Linked DNA regions of Homo sapiens: region 2 is linked to region 1. The links are contacts of gene promoters, found by promoter capture Hi-C in blood cells and fetal thymus (Javierre and others, 2016). All regions are on one chromosome and are shown on one strand. The core of a region is centred on a gene start or on the middle of the fragment in contact, and the rest is flanking DNA. Distances in the headings are between cores, read along the strand shown.

Region 1 (3,896 bases), core at 619-3,118:
GGGAGAGCAGGGCATGTGGACAGACCCTCCGCTGCTCTCTGCCTCTCGGTAGACCCCACCCTCACCCGGGCACGCCGGCCGGGTCTGGAATACCGGCCGGCGAGCTCCAGTCTGGGCGCCCTGGATGTTTGGGGGCGCCTGGGCTTTTGTTCTCGCTACTTCTCTTTGTACATTGGAATCGACTTGAACCCCCCACCCTCCACCCCACAGCGGGAAAGGGAGGCGATGACAGCTTGCTGATAGTTCTGGGAGGGTCTCGCTCAACAGCTGCAGGCTGAGCTCCGCCGCGTGCGCCCGGGTCATTCGGCCTTTCTCGCCAGGGGATGAAAGAGGTCACGTCACCTCGCCAACGGCCCTTCCGAAGTGTGGGGCGGCGCGCTTCAGTCATCGAATTGCAGGGAACAGGTTGTGCAGTGAACGTTTCTGACACCCTTTCCCCTCCCGCCCTCAAACGCACGCAGGATTAGTCTCTCTCTCTCTCTCTTTCTCTCTCTCTCTCACACACACACACACACACGCGCGCGCGAAAAGTAACAAAGAGACCAGTTCCTGCCTCAGTACCTAGAGACTGCGGATCTGAAGGGAGGGTCTGTGCTCCAAGTCTGTGCACGCGCTCGTGCGAGTGCGCGTGGGTCTTGGGTCGTCTCGCGCGCGCTGGGCTGCAGTTTTTAGTCGTATTCCCCACCCTTCAACCGCAGCACGAAGCCTCGGACCTCCAGGTCGCCGCGATGGAAGATAAGAAAGTTTGTTACTCGGGCTTGGGCCACCCTTGGAACCCACCCTCTTACTTGACAATAGATGAACTGAATCCGAGGGCGGGGTGGGGGGGTGGGGCGCCTGTCGTGTGGTTTTAAATACTGGGTTACACAGCGTATCCCACGTTTCTGAGAGCCCTTTGTTCCGCCGACAGCCCCGCCCCCGGGACCCCACCCTCTTTCTGCCCTCCGGACGGTCAGTGCAGCGCCACCGGCCACTCCCACTCCATCACTAGCGAGCAACAAAAGTCAACCCCCGGGGCAGAGGGCTCCTGGGTACCAGCAGGGGCGTTATGCACTCCCGGAGAGGGTCGGGCAGGGCTGAGGGGCTCCGAGGTCGCTTCACCCCTAGATGCTGCGGCGCAGTGAGAGGAGCTACCAGCCCAAGACAGACAAAGGAGAAAGCAGGCCCACGCTGGGGCGGGGGCGGAGGCCGCGCTGGTGTTCATGGGCCGCAGGTGTCCCGGTTGCCATCAAGCACGACTTCCTTCTGGGGCCACCTGTCCTCCCCCAGGCCTCTGTGAGACGGAGCGCCGCCTGGGCAGTCGCTGGCCTCCAGGGTTGAGGAAAAAGACGGTGGTCTCACCAGGGGCAGTTGGCTGGAGGGACTCTGGCCAGTGGCCGAGTAGGAGCCGCAGTCCGAGGTGGCGGAGCAGCCTGTGCCACCTCAGCCCTCCCACCTGCCGGCACTGGAGCACCTGACGGCTTCTCCACATGCTCCAGTCCTCCATCGTTCCCATCCGGTGCCAGCTCTGCCCCCACCCCGGTCAGGACGCGCTGGTGGCCCTCGCCTCGCCGCCCTCTCACCCTCCTTTTCTTCACTGTTCCCCCATATCCCCATACCCAGACCCCCACCACAGCCCCAGACAATGCGCACGCCCCCACCATACTCCCGGTAGCCCCCACCCCTCTCCCGGTCGGCACGCCCGCTCTGATTGGCCGCGGGCCGGTGGTCCAGCCCCCCGGACGGTCCCTAGGGCTCGGAGCATTACGTCAGCCGGGCCTGGAGAGCGCCAGCGCGAAGGGGACTGGGGGGCTCGGGCTGGGGGCGCGGCCTGTGCCGGCCGCCCCACCCTCCTTGCATAAAAGCCGGAGCCCGCGGGGCCGGCGCTCTCAGCCCGTCGGTTCCCGAGCGCCTTCCCGGTGACCCCGCAGTGGGTGTGTGAGGGGAGGACGGACAGACCCAGACGCCGCCGGACCAGGAGGACGCTGACGAGGCACCATGCGTGAGATCGTGCACATCCAGGCGGGCCAGTGCGGCAACCAGATCGGCGCCAAGGTGGGCGCGCCGCAGCGGAGGGGGTCCAATGGGGGCGCGAACCTGGGCCGAGAGCCCCTCGGGGTCCCCAGGCGCGGTCCTGGGAAGGCCTGGGGATCGCCAAATGCAGACCTTCCTGGCCGCTTTGTGCCGCCGAGTGTGGCCTGGGCTAGGAGGTGACTTTCGCGGACGGAGGGGGCACCTCTCTTTCTTTCTGCTGTAACTCATTTGGAGTCCCCGTCACCCCCTCGGCCTCCCTCCGCGCTGGCTGCTTGGCAGGCACGCGTGCCTGGAGAAGACGAGGGTGTGTCCGCGAGGCTGTGCGCGGCGCTCCGCGCGAGGGGCTGGGACACCAGGAGGATTAATTGTACTCGCTTGAACCGGAGTCGAGCTGCCGGGGGAGGGGAGGAGAGCGATTGTCTTGCGGTCTCAGGACGTGCTTTGAATCTAAAACCGCGGTCCTTTAGCTCCTTTGCGTTCCTCTTTCCCCGCCCACCCGCTCCTGGCGGGCTGCAGTCCCTGTGCCCTCGCCTCCTGCCGCAGCCTGGGGCTGCGACCAGTGCGCCAAGCTCCGCCACTGCCCGGCTTTGGCTGGTCCTTACCCCCTCGACCCCTACCTCCCCCCGCGAGCGGCAGCTGTTTGCCTGGGAAACGCCCAGTTTCAACTTTCTGAACCTGCAAAATACAAGCCCCGCGGCTGTGCCCGGGTCACGACGCCCTTTAAAGCTTCAAGCTCCTGAAATGTTGGGTTGTCGGAACTGAGTCGGGGACATTTCATTGTGAGCCTTGGCGTTTCTGGGGGCATCGTTCATGGCTAAATGCAGCCTTTCTGTCTCAGTTTTGGGAGGTCATCAGTGATGAGCATGGGATTGACCCCACTGGCAGTTACCATGGAGACAGTGATTTGCAGCTGGAGAGAATCAATGTTTACTACAATGAAGCCACTGGTAATCACCCTTGCCCCACCCCCACTCCCTTCAGTTTTTCCACCTTCTCCCCTTTCCCTTGCGTGGGACCCCAGGGGTGTGGCCCTGGGAGAGGGTGGACTATTCAGTTTAGGATCCCCGCTCTTTCCCTGCAGTATTTCATTGGGCTTCCTTATGCCAACAGAGCCCTTTGAGAACCTGATGGTGGGTCTCCCTTTGTTTGGGGCAACATCTGCATGATGGCAGCAGGCGCCAAGCCCTTCTCTGCAGAGGTCCTTGCCTGAGGGTCTAAGTCACTGTTGTTCCTTGCAGGTAACAAATATGTTCCTCGGGCCATCCTCGTGGATCTGGAGCCAGGCACGATGGATTCGGTTAGGTCTGGACCATTCGGCCAGATCTTCAGACCAGACAATTTCGTGTTTGGTGAGTGCCTGGTGTGGCTGAGAGCATGAGGGATTCATTTTACGCTGGGCAGTGGAGGCTGAAGAGGTGTGATTGCCAGAGGGAAAGCATGAAGAACATCCGCGGTGTGCCAACTTAGCTTTAATATAGTGTAAAATTGTTTGCCTTTCAGCTGCTAAGAGCTTGGTGTCCTGGCCTTCCTTATTTATAATTATATTCATGAACAAATATTTTAACGTTTGGCCATTTTGGTGATAATCTGAAATAGTCTTATCTGAGCATTGACTCACTGATCTATATTGAGGGGTTTGAGGTAAGGTATTTAGTACAATCACCGGTGACTTAAGATTTCTCTTTCCCTCTGGCAGGCCAGAGTGGAGCCGGGAATAACTGGGCCAAGGGCCACTACACAGAGGGAGCCGAGCTGGTCGACTCGGTCCTGGATGTGGTGAGGAAGGAGTCAGAGAGCTGTGACTGTCTCCAGGGCTTCCAGCTGACCCACTCTCTGGGGGGCGGCACGGGGTCCGGGATGGGCACCCTGCTCATCAGCAAGAT
Region 2 (4,356 bases), core at 328-2,827, 110 kb after region 1:
TGAGGCAGGTGGATCATTTGAGGTCAAGAGTTCGAGATCAGCTTGGCCAACATGGTGAAACCCCATCTCTACTAAAAACACAAAAATTAGCCGGGCATGGTGGCAGGTACCTGTAATCCCAGCTACTCGGGAGGCTGAGGCCACGAGAATCGCTTAAACCTGGGAGGCAGAGGTTGCAGTGAGCGAGATCACAACACTGCACTCCAGCATGGGCAAAAGAGCGAGAGTCAGTCTCAAAAAAAAAAAGAACTATATTGGTACAATCACAGTAACTTATTTCGATGCCTTTCTGCAGACAGGAAACTGGAAAAAATAATCATTTTCACTGTTAATTTATACAGCTGTAGCCATTAACATGTTTTTCCATCTATCAAAATAGCCCTGACCATCTTATAATAATTCTAAAATTAAAGGAGCTAGTCAATTGCAATATGAAATTTTAAAAGCTGGTCAGATTTGCCCTCTTTTCTCCTTCTAAATCAAGTTTTCAAACTAAAAGTTTCTATGTTGGATCAAGTACAGTTCTAAACGCTGTGTACCTATCTAGTACTGACTTTATGAAAGTAGCCCATCAACAGTCAACTGCGCACATGCACTGTGTACGTTCGTTGTATACGTGTGTTTGCATGTGTGTAGGGATGTATGTAGAGAATAAAGTAAAACAAGCTTCATGCCGCTCTATCCACATTTCTGCCCAGTATCTCTTGGGACCAAGAGTATCCATTTTCAAGACAGAAGGTCAGAAATTAATCCAGTTTTTTTGTTATTGTTTTACCTGAAATGGGGGGACAGGTGGGAGGACAAAAGAGAATAAAGCAGATTCCTGGGCATCTCCACACATGTAGATCAGATCCTCTGGGAGTGAGGCCCAGGATTCTGAATTTTCAGTTCCCAACGTGATTCTTTTGCACATTAAGGTACGAGATCAGCAAGCAAAGAGAAGACTTAGGGCTCTCGGGACCCGTGATTAAAGCCTTAGCGGTACTCAGGCTCAGGCTGATTTCTGACATAAGAGAAAGAAGAGATTATTGTCCTTATGCCCTTAGTGTGGACTCTGGACAGAGCAATGGACTAATGAGGGCGTTGGGATTCTAGTCCGTGCTCCGTCACGGGTGAGTCCATACTACAGGCAAATGTATCTCCCTGGGTCTCTCTGGTCTGCACACTGAAGGGGCTGCACTCTATAGCCCAAGCCTCCACGGCTCCAGACTCCTTGAACTGAGGCTGACCGAGGCGCATGCACGATCGAGGGGCTCGAGCACCAAGCGCGGCTGGCCCCCAGGATCGGGGTCTCGCGGCACAAAGGGCGACAGGGCAGCCAGGCCGCGCCCACGCCCCGTGCCCGCGCGCCGGGAACTCCTGCTGTCGGCACGCGCCCCTCCCGCCGCCCCTCGAGCGCGCCGATGCTGGGGATCCCCGGGGCGAGGTGGCCGCCATTACCCGAACGCGGCCGCGGGTCCGGCCCGTGGGACGTGGATCCCGGGCTTCAGCGCTGAGAGAAGCAGCCGCAGGCGCAACACGCCCCGGCCGCCCAGCACAGCCACCATGGTCACAGGTCGCGTAGCTGCCGGGAGTGCGCATGCGCTAAGACCAAGCGCGGTACCCGGCCCACTCTGCCCCGAAGCCACGCCCTCTGCTCCGCCCACCTCGCCTCTCCATCCTGCTCCGCCCTCTGCCCGCCCCGCCCCGAAGCCACGCCCTGCCGGGTGCTTTCCCATGGGCGACCGAAACTCGGCTCGTGGTTTCGCAGTCCTGGAACCGCCGGCACCCGCGTAGACCGTCCCCTCTCGGTGCTGGCTCTGGCTCCCGGGATGAGTGTCCCCGTCGGCGCTGCCCCGCCCTCGCTCGTCGCCTCAGCGACCATGGCCTTTCCAGGAGGCGAGGCCGCCAGCCATAGCGCCCTCGCTGCGTCGGCGTCCAGGCGGGACTCCGGAGTGGGCGGGGCTCCGGCTCTAGGCAGGCTGCTATGTTGGATCAAGTAAAGTTCTAAACGCTGTGCACCTATTTAGTACTGACTAGTACTAGGAAGTGTATTTGCTTTTCGGAGATGATGGGATCTAAATTTTGTTTATACCACTTCACGCCCATTAGGATGGCTACTAGCAAAACCCCCAGAAATTAGTGTTGGTGAAGATGTAGAGAAATTGAAGCCCTTGTATATTGCTGTTGGGAATGTAAAATGGTGCAGCCATGTGATGAACAATACTGCGGTTCCTCAACAAATCAGTTATATGATCCAGCATTTTCTTTTCTGGGTATATAACCCAAAAGAATTTAAAACAGGGTGTACAAGAAGAAATGTTTTTACACTCACGTTGACAGCGGCACTATTCACAATAGCCAAAAGGGTGGAGGCAATTTAAGTGTCCAAAAACAGATACATGGATAAGCAAAATGTTGTCTGTGCATGCAAGGGAACATTTTTTAGCCTGAACAAAGAACGAAATTCTGACACTTGCTACTACATGGATGAACCTGGAGGACACTATGCTGAGGGAGGTAAGCCAGTCAAAAAAAGACAAATACTGTGTGATTCCACTTATATAATAAGGTACCTAGAGGAGTCAAACTTATAGGGACAGAAAATAGAATGGGGGTTGTTGAGGGCTGGTGGAAGGGGGAATGGAAAGTTGGTGTTTCATGGGGACAGAGTTTCAGTTTGGAGAGATGAAAAAGTCCTGGGGATGGATTTTGGTGATGCCTGCATTACATTGTGAGTGTACTTACTGCCACTGAACTACACACCTAAAAGTGGTTTAAGTGGTAAGTTTTATGTATGTTTTACCACAATTAATTTTTTTTCTTTTGGCTGTATAATTGCAGCTTTATAAAGGTTATAGACATTATCTAATTGAAAGCTCAGTGGAGAAAAAAAACAACTATTGCTTTTTAAGTCAATCGTTCTGCCTTAATTGGAAATAACTGGCAGATTTGTGGCTACTGTTGTAGCCTTGGCTTGAATAATTGGAGACAACAGCTTCTTTGCATATTGCATTTCTTCTCCTCCAAGAGACCTTTTTGGTGTAACAGTCAGTCCTGTGAGCACAGTGCTTGTAGGTGTTACACTCATAGAAATTTCTGTCACCTGCAGTGTCCTCACTGGCCCATTGGACTTTCTTGAGTAGTAAAGGCAGTTTTGGCCTAAATACAGACTATGCAAAAGTTTTCATATTCTACTCTCAACATAAATCTATCACATTAATTCCTGCATAAAAGGAAAGAGACATATATAATGTTTGAGTTTAATATCGTTTGACTTTCAGAAATCTTTGGTGAGGTCAGTATTTCCTTTTTTCCTGATATGTTGATTGGGGTTTCATCTCAGAAATGATAAAAATAGCTGTCTGTACAGTTTCAACACCAGTTACCCTTGTGCTAATAAAAAACGGTAGCACTGAGTTTTAGGTTATTGGTGTCACAATTTTTTTTTTTTGAGACGGAGTTTTGGTCTTGTTGCCCAGGCTGGAGTGCAATGGCGCAATCTCAGCTCACTGTAACCTCTGCCTCGCAGGTTCAAGCAATTCTCCTGCCTCAGCCTCCTGAGTAGCTGAGATTACAAGCACCCGCCACCATGCCCGGCTAATTTTTGTAATTTTAGTAGAGACGAGGTTTTGCCATGTTGGCCAGGCTGGTCTCAAACTCCTGACCTCAGGTGATCCACCCGCCTCAGCCTCCTAAAGTGCTAGGATTACAGGTGTGTGCCACCGCGTCCAGCGTGGTGTCACTATTTTTAAGTAACATACCTGACAACCAGTTCTTTATATATAGCAAGATCGTACAGTTTAAAAAAACTGCCATTTTTGTGCCAGGCACCTTATGATATATCATATTTCTTTAATCTTCACATTAGCCTTCTGTGCTATTGCACTCTCCATTTATAGATGAGGCAACTGAGGCTAAGAAAGGTTAGGAAGCAAGCCCTAGGTAACACAGCTGAAAAGTAATTTTGAGCTGCTCAATTTCAGGACTCTATACTTGCATAATGACGGCGAAAGGTTAGGAAGCAAGGCCTGGGTAACACAGCTGAGAAGGGGCAGGGGGGAGTTTTGAGCTCTCAATTTCAGGACTCTATACTTGATGATGATGATGATGATTGCTATTATTATTGAGGCACGGTGTGATCACAGCTCCCCACAGCCTCAAACTCCTGGGCTCAAGTGATCCTCCCACCTTAGCCTGCCAAGAAGCTAGGACTACAGGCATACACCACCACACCTGGCTAATATTTTTTAATGTTTTTGTGGAGATAGGGTCTTGCTGTGTTGTCCACACTGGTCTCGAACTCATGGCCTCAAGCGATCCTCCCAGCTTGGCCTCCCAAAGTGCTGGGATTACAGGCATGAGCCACTATACCTG

Evidence for each region. The method cuts DNA at HindIII sites, captures the fragments that hold promoters and counts their contacts. A CHiCAGO score of 5 or more calls a contact.
Region 2: the fragment with the promoter of BPHL here is called in contact with the fragment with the promoter of TUBB2B in region 1 in 1 of 17 cell types (activated CD4 T cells); the score reaches 5.3 in activated CD4 T cells.

What each region holds. Positions count from the first base shown.
Region 1 is chr6:3,225,625-3,229,520 of GRCh38, reverse strand. It overlaps TUBB2B (tubulin beta 2B class IIb), which reads left to right and starts at 1,868. Exons shown (of 4, transcript NM_178012.5): 1 at 1,868-2,034; 2 at 2,852-2,960; 3 at 3,252-3,362; 4 at 3,710-3,896. The coding sequence starts at 1,978. RefSeq lists enhancers at 1-270, 1,566-2,224, 2,225-2,885 and a silencer at 1,672-1,961. The HindIII fragment of the contact is 13,618 bases long and covers 1-2,741 here.
Region 2 is chr6:3,115,932-3,120,287 of GRCh38, reverse strand. BPHL (biphenyl hydrolase like) reads right to left here and starts at 1,577. Exons shown (of 7, transcript NM_004332.4): 1 at 1,441-1,577. The coding sequence starts at 1,547. It overlaps LOC107986556 (a long non-coding RNA gene), which reads left to right and starts at 1,641. Exons shown (of 4, transcript XR_001743928.3): 1 at 1,641-2,499. RefSeq lists a silencer at 1,280-1,669 and an enhancer at 1,708-2,343. The HindIII fragment of the contact is 8,418 bases long and covers 669-4,356 here.